Linked DNA regions of Homo sapiens: region 2 is linked to region 1. Evidence: promoter capture Hi-C in 16 types of primary human blood cells and fetal thymus (Javierre and others, 2016). All regions are on one chromosome and are shown on one strand. Each heading gives the region's core, a stretch centred on a gene start or on the middle of the fragment in contact. The rest is flanking DNA. Distances are from core to core; before and after follow the strand shown.

The links. Contacts are between HindIII fragments. The CHiCAGO score rates a contact against its expected background, and 5 or more counts as called.
Region 2: a fragment that was not itself captured here is called in contact with the fragment with the promoter of DST in region 1 in 6 of 17 cell types (erythroblasts, total CD4 T cells, total CD8 T cells and 3 more); the score reaches 8.1 in erythroblasts.

The regions. Positions count from the first base shown.
Region 1 is chr6:56,953,395-56,957,259 of GRCh38, forward strand. DST (dystonin) reads right to left here and starts at 1,436. Exons shown (of 104, transcript NM_001374736.1): 1 at 1,013-1,436; 2 at 391-425. The coding sequence starts at 1,193. BEND6 (BEN domain containing 6) reads left to right here and starts at 1,713. Exons shown (of 7, transcript NM_152731.3): 1 at 1,713-2,066. RefSeq lists an enhancer at 419-1,050 and a silencer at 1,212-1,901. The HindIII fragment of the contact is 5,182 bases long and covers 1-3,005 here.
Region 2 is chr6:57,512,234-57,516,082 of GRCh38, forward strand. All of the region lies in intron 8 of PRIM2 (DNA primase subunit 2), which reads left to right. Among named protein-coding and RNA genes, the nearest start is that of MIR548U, 120 kb to the left of the region's middle. The HindIII fragment of the contact is 804 bases long and covers 2,027-2,830 here.

The sequences.
Region 1 (3,865 bases), core at 186-2,685:
GGATCAAATTGTTCTGCACTAACCTCTTCGTTTATCCAAGTGAACAACCAGAGTCAACTGACAGCACCCAGAAAACACTTCCACCAGCAAAATATAAACTGTAAACTCAAGTGACATCCACCCTGTGGCTAAGTTTTTTAAGGTCTGCAGCACTTTTAGGGTTTGCCTTTTCCCCTCTTGTACAACAGCTCCACTACACAAGAAATTTGCTAAAACCGTTCGCTGGGCACTAATATGAAATCACTTAAAAGGAAACATGCCACTTTCGGCTAGGGGACAGCATGTTCGTCATTCAGTGTCCTACTGGTTTCTTAACACGCATATAATTAATATTGGTACTCAGGAAAGAGAACTTCTTCTGACCTTGAGCGTGCGCGCTAAATAAATTACCTCAGAACGAAAGTGGTGCGATCTCAAAACAGCATCTGGGGAGAAAAGAGATAAATGAGACTTCATTTAACTCCTTGTTCTTCACCTACCGAGTGACTCATGACTTACCTGGGAGACCAGGGTTGGGAAAGCACATCGCAGACTCCTGGAATTCGGTGGGACATCCTGGGGGAGGGAGGAGGAGTCCTGGGGCCATCGGTCTCTACGTGATTTCTCCGCGAGAAGTTTGCATGAAAGTTCTGGGGGAGTTGGGGAGCCCCGAAGTTTCCATGCCTTACTTTCTTACCCCTACGCTCCAGCGAAGGATGCGTGAAGGCGAGGCTGGCGCAGCCCCGGACTACGCTCAAATTACCCTTAAGGCTTTAGCAAACTGACTAAAAATTTGAGTTCTTTCCTCCCCTCCCTGCCCTCGGCATCGCCGTGGTTATTCAAACCTGGGAGACTGGAGGGCGGAGGTGACGGCAAAAAGGGCAAGGGGCGTTAAAGAAACGCACTCAGCCTGGGGAGTGGGCAATGATGGGGCTAGGGGCAGCCGAGGAGAAGGGAGCGAGCCGCGCTTCACTCTCCAAATCGGCTTAATTGTTCCTGGTAGCCCGCAGAAACCCGTCGCGGCGTGTCTTACCTCGGCTTCTTGAACGACCCGAGAAGACCGATTTCATCGGATGCCTCCCTTTCTGGAGCTTGCGGTGCCAGCAGCAGAAGAAGACGATGGTGGCGATGGTGCCCAGCAGAAGCAACAAGAGGAAGAGGGCACATTGGATGCTGTAGGGTCTCAGCAAGACGAGGAAAGCCGCGGCGATCATGGTGCGGGCGAGGCGAGGGCGACTCGACGGCGGGGCTGGAGGGCGGCGGCACAGGCACCCGCGCTGGGCGCACGCCGGGACGGCGGGCACGGGTGAGCGCGGCTCAGCGCGTCATGCCTGGCGCTCGCGGCCCCGCGCCCAGCCCAATGGCTGCGCACCCCGCGCCAGCCGCGCTACGCGAGTGATCCAGGGCTGCGGGGAGCGCTTGCCATGACTCAGCAGACAGCGACGAGGCTGCGACTCGGCGGCTGGGATCCTCTCCCCTCCCTCCCCAGGCGCCCCCGCCCCCGTCCGTGCGCAGCCCCCGGGCGCAGCCCCGCCGGGGACGCGGCGAGTGGGGAGGAGCAGCGCCGCCGCCGCGGCCGCCCGGGCCCCGCGCATCGTCCTGCGGCCGCCGCCGACCTCAGCATCCCAGAAGCCGGGCGCACGTGGGTCGGGGCGGGGACGCGGCGCTCAGGCTGCAGCCGCGGCAGCCTGCGGGGGGCGGGAATGGGGCGCCGCGGCGGGGGCTCGGCTGATGACATCACGGCCAGGCTGCGGCAGCGCGGGCGCGCGGACATGGCTGCGGCGGTTTCGGCGGCGTCCGCGGGCTGCACCCGGGCCTGAGAGCCCAGCGCCCTCCCGCGGGGCCGCCCGCCAGTCCGCGCCGTCCGCGGGTGCATTGGCCGGGTGCCTCTAGCTTCCCGGACACCCGGAGCTTCCGCCTATCCAGCCTCCCTCGGCCAAATTGCTGCGGAGCCCGTCGTCAGGGGGCGCCAAGGAGCCAGGGGGAAAACCGAGAGGCGCTGACAGGAGCCTCCCGGCGGTGCTACCCTCCACCTCCCACCTCCCTGCGCCCCGCCCCGAGGTTGGGGCTTTGAAGAATGCAGCCGGGTGAGCTATTGCTTGTGGGGGTTTCCTCGCACTCTGAAGCGCGAGCGCCGGGAAGGGCCTTCCCTGGGAATTGGGATACTCCAGGAACGGGAGGCCCACTCCTCTCCAAGCCTCTCTAAACTAGGAGCGCTCCGGGGTAGTACGCTCTGGTCGGCAGAGGTGAACTCTTCCACCCCAAACTTGGTGCTTATCTCGCAGCTAAGAATTGGGCACTTTCGATCTTCTTGTATCCCTGGGTTTGCCCTAAAACCCTGACTCATTTAGTGCATTTGAAGGGCAAGGCGATTTCAGATTTAGGGACCTGGCAGATGAAGTAAGTTGGTACTTGGCTTATAAACATTTGGGGGAGAAATTTTTTAGGGAGTGTGAGGCAATAGTGATCTCTCACACTTGCAGGCACACTCTGTCTCCCCTTTGTCCCCTCCCCACGTTTCTTCATAACCAGCAAAAAGTATATGGCAGTTGGTGGCCAGGGGATTTAACACTGATGCAATGCCAGCACGGAAGGTATAGCGAGAGCGCTGCAGTGTGCCTTTCTGCGGACGGCCACGGCCACCTGGCCAGGAAGCGGCTGCTGCAGCAGTCATTCTGCGGCATCTTGCGGCCTTGGCGGGCGGTGCTGTGCCGCGTTCTGCTGCCCCCAAGGCAATGCTGGCTTTCCCTGTGTGGGGCTGGATTGTTTGTTTCATTTACTCGCATAAGAAAACTTTAATTATAGTGACAAGGTAACACTTGACTGCATTTGCGGAGTTTCTTATAACAACTGTATTAGCCTCTTTTTTGGAATATTTAATAGACTGAAGAAATTGTGTCATAAAAATTTATAAAAATTTGAAAAGCAGGTAAATAATTGGGAGGAATAAAAGTTTTATTTGCTTGTAGTGATCTCAAAATCAGTGTTGTTTTCCAACTATACAAAACCGTACAGCTCTGCATGAAAGCTTAATCATTGATGTCCTTAAAGCCAGTAACATATTACCGTGTGTAAGTATTAAACCTAAAAAGGCATTGGTTAATGCAGTCTCTTAGTGCCAGATTCATAAGCATGGAAAACAACAGATACGTTTTGTTTACAGCTGGTTTCCTTAAACAAAATAAACATTCGAATTGTTGACATGTTGCATCTCATTCATTCAGTTGTTTTGGATTGAACTCAGAAGGGCCCTTGCTTGGAGACACTGCATAAGGTGGGAATTTTGAATGGCAGCATGTAGGCTGCACTGAATTCCAGGATAGGCTTCATGGGTCTCTAGCACTCAGAGTGGGTGACAGGTAGCACTACATCATGTGCATATGGCTAAAGGTTTCTTGATACCGCAGCCCACTGCAGTGAGAAACTATTCAACAATTATGCAGAGGTTATTGAAGAAAATCCTGAGAGTTTGCAATGTGTGGCACATCAGGAAAGGAAGAATTCTCCACCGCATTGACTCAACAATGGCATGGTGGAGTAATTTTAAACAACAAAACTGAACTAACCGTGTGCAGACATTGGGGGAAATAACTAACAGAATTTTGGAAGGTCATCTTTATGCTTCTCATTGACTGAAATTTGTAAGTGAGCTGAAATAGCCTACGTATCCTTGAACAGAAACATGTCAAAGACACACAGAATAGTATTCAAATTGCCCCAAACGCTATATTTTTTTAACAACAAAAAGCAACTAAATAGCTATTATGGTTTTCTGAGCTATGACTTTAGCACAACTGTTATCATCCTGCGTCTTGCTGCAGCCATTTATAAGTTTCAAGTGCACACAAGAACATCATTTATCTCTCTTGGCAGGCAAATGCTTAAC
Region 2 (3,849 bases), core at 1,179-3,678, 560 kb after region 1:
AGCTTAATTCTGAGGACATGTAAGGAAAAAGGACTGCATCTGTGAGCTTCATGGTTGAAGAAAGTGTTTTATTTTTTCCTTAAGATTGGTAAGATGAGCATATTTACAGGTTAAGGCAGAAATGAGTAGTATGGGAGTAAGAGGGAATAATTGAAGGGGCAATGTTTTAGGAGGGGTAGAAGGGGATAGGCCAGGAAATCAAACTGACTGGAGTTTAAAAAGTACTTTCCAATCTAGCTTTTTGGTGCATACTCAGAACAATCCAGTGTGGATGGTAGATGGTTATTTATCATAATCCCTATTTTACAGGTTGGTGATGGAGCCTCATGATGTTCTCATTAAGAAAACCTAATTTTTCTTTTTCTTTTCTTTTTTTTTGAGACAAAGTCTCACTCTGTCTGTCGCCCAGGCTGGAGTGCAATGGCATGATCTCAGCTTACTGCAACCTCCTCCTACTGGGTTCAAGCGATTCTTCTGCCTCAGCTTCCTAAGTAGCTGGGACTACAGGCATGTGCCACCACACCCAATAAATTTTTTATTTTTAGTAGGGATGGGGTTTCATCATGTTGGCCAGACTGGTCTCTAACTCCAGACCTCAGGTGTTCTGCCTGCCTCGGCCTCCCAAAGTGTTGGGATTACAGGTGTGAGCCACCGTGCTCACCATGCACCAGCCAAGAAAACCTGATTTTTCTAATGAAAAATACTGCCTTTCCCTCTCCTCAAAAGAGATGAATTAATTATTTCATAAGACTATACCATTTTTCAAAATTGATACCAGGAACTTTTCTATTGGAAGAAATAAACTTACTTAGACTTACAATAATATAAAGTTTAGAGAGAATTTGTATAAATCATTATTTCTGCTTTCACCAAATTGCATATGATTAGATATGTAATCTAAGGAGCCTGCATCTCATTGTGGCTTTACTGTCATTATCATGGTTATATATCACTGCATTTTCTAGGGTGAATTATATCGTTCACTGATTTGGTAGTTTGGAGATACATAAAGGTCTTGGAATATGTTCCCATGAATGTAGAAGTTTATTGTAAATAAGTATCTTTGCTATCCTAATGATGGTACCATGGGATAATATTTATAAAAATGGCATTAGGCTAGCAAGTGTGCATGATAAAGGTGTTTATTTTTATTTATTATCTCACTTATAAATATGAAGTATAAATAGGTACAACTAGAGAGGAAAACTTGCAGCCCATATTATACATGTGATAACTTTTAGTTGTATGATTGAGAATTTTTCCCCCTTAAAAATAACGCCTACAGTGTATGTATCTTCCTCCTTTATCCCTTGACTTCAAGATATGAAGTGCATTGGGGGACAGCATATTATAAGTCACTGTAATAGTTGCTATTATTGGCTGGACGCGGTGGCTTACGCCTGTAAACCCAGCACTTTGGGAGGCTGAGGCAGGCAGATCACTTGAGGCCAGGAGTTCAAGACCAGCCTGTCTCTACTAAAAATACAAAAATTAGCCCACTGTGGTGGCGCGCACCTGTAATCCCAGCTGCTCAGGAGGCTGAGGCAGGAGAATCACTTGAACCTAGGAGGCAGAGGTTGTAGTGAGCCAGGATCATGCCACTGCACTCCAGGCTGGGCAACAATTGCTATTATTTAATGTTTTGTCATTAAAGAATAACTCATTTTTAAAATGCGTATTTGTCACACCACAATTTTGCGAGCATATTTCAGCCCAAGAATGAATTAGAAATCAAACAAAGATAAAGCAAGCTAAAACAAGTATTACTTATAGTAAGTACTTGGACTGCATCATATGGATTAACTTTTAGTGCATACTGATTTTGCAAGCAGATGTTTATACAAACCGTTATTTTAAAATCGTTTAAAGTAATAAAGGCATCTTCCTTCAGTTGGTATTATTACTAGTTTTGTAAAATTCCTTTTCCGAAGGCAGTACATTTTGTTAATATGCACACATTTCTACTTATTTTTCTAAAGAATATGCTTTCACAAATTTTTTATCAGACATGTAATCTCTGTAAGAAAGCTTTTCTTACTATCCAAAGTGGTACAGCTATCATTGTTTTCTTTTTGAATTAGTTCTGATTTTGAAATCAGAAAATTGTGTGGGCATTCATGTGTCTATTGTGGTAAATATGAAAATAAACGCCAGAAAATGGTTTAGTAGATAGGGGCTTCATCAGTTGAGGGCTGAAATGAAAGCCTCATTAGCCTGGTCCACATGCTTCAGTTGTTTGTTAGCTCTTTCTCATCACCTGTTTCCAGTCTCTGGCAGTACCTTGAACATTTATTTCCTTTTCTACATGCAGCAGCACAAGCTTTTATAGTTCACTGATTATAGTGAAGGTTTTCCAGGTGCTGTGTAAGATATTAATAAATTAGAATATATTGTTTTCCATTGTCACCTTTGAATTACAATTTTTTCACATCTGTATGGAAAATGTTAATGCCTTCTTAGAGGTATACTTGTGAATAGTCAGCATTTTGTTAGAATCAGCCCGTTGTGTTAAGGGCACTATAATTGGTACTGATTATGTACAAAAGAACTAATAGATGTGGTCCCTTAACTCAAGAAGCTTATATTTTTAAGGGGAAAGAGGACCAAAATTTATAAACAGTACCCCCCTCCCCACCCACACACATACCCAAAGCTGCACCGGAATAGTTGCTGCAAGTTAAGTAGATAGTAAAGAGAGTGATAGGAAGTTTTATGAGAAGCAGTATCTGCATGTGGATTATGTTACAAATTTAATGTCATTTAATGTTTTTGGTAAAATGTATAGTCACAATATATAAAATCATCTCCCTCCCTAATGCAACCAACACTAAGCTTCTTTTGTGAACTTGATGCATACTTTAATTATAAAGTGGTCAACTTTTAAAATTTTCACTTAATATAACTAGGTAATAAAGTAGAAAATTGATTTTCATGACTCCAATTTTAAGTATCTGCATAATAGTCAATCAAGAATAGATATATCTACTTAGCCATTGCCATTTTATCAGATATGTATAGCTTTTGGGATTGAATAAACCTGTGGCAAAAAATTATAGAATGTGAACAGTTTCTGTGTGTTCAGGCAAAGTAACTGAGAAGAAATACTGTAGTAACTTTATGTAGAAGGAATTGCAACATAGATGTTTTCCAGCAGATCAGATGGAGATAAGAACAAAGAACAGCAGCAGCCTAGGTAGTGTATAGCTTTGAAAATACAGGGAAGTTCATTAGTCTAAAAATGCCATCTTGCCCAAGTGAGAAAGTGGCAGATTTCTTAACAAGTGAACGAGTGACTTGAAAAAGGTGGAATTGAGGAAGCCAAATGTTAAAGCTTATTAGCGTGTGTAGATTAGAGCCTTTATACCCATTTTTTCAAACACTCCTTTAGAATATTTAAAAATCACTCGTGTCATATGTCTGTGTGCGTAAGTACATTGTATATACATTCCCTGATATTTAGCGATGACACTAGCATTTTTATATAAAGAAAATAAAAAGTGACCAGTGTATTAGTTTTCTATTCCAATCTTAACAAATGCCACACATTTAGTGGATTAAAACAATCCCCATTTATTATCTCACAGTCTGTAGGTTAGAAATCGGACATGGGTCTTGCCAGGCTAAAATCAAGGTGTCAGCAAGGCTTTTATATTCCTTACCGGAGGCTCTGGGGAAGAATTTACTTCCAAGGTTATTTAAGTTGTTGGAGATCCTGTTTTTATGCTGGCTGTCAGTTGAAGCCTGGTCTTTCCTCCTAGAGGCTGCCCACATTCCTTCTCATGCTTTCCATGATTTCCTAGAGGCCTCTGAAGTCCTTGCCTGTGGGTCCCATCTCAGAGCCTTCCCATG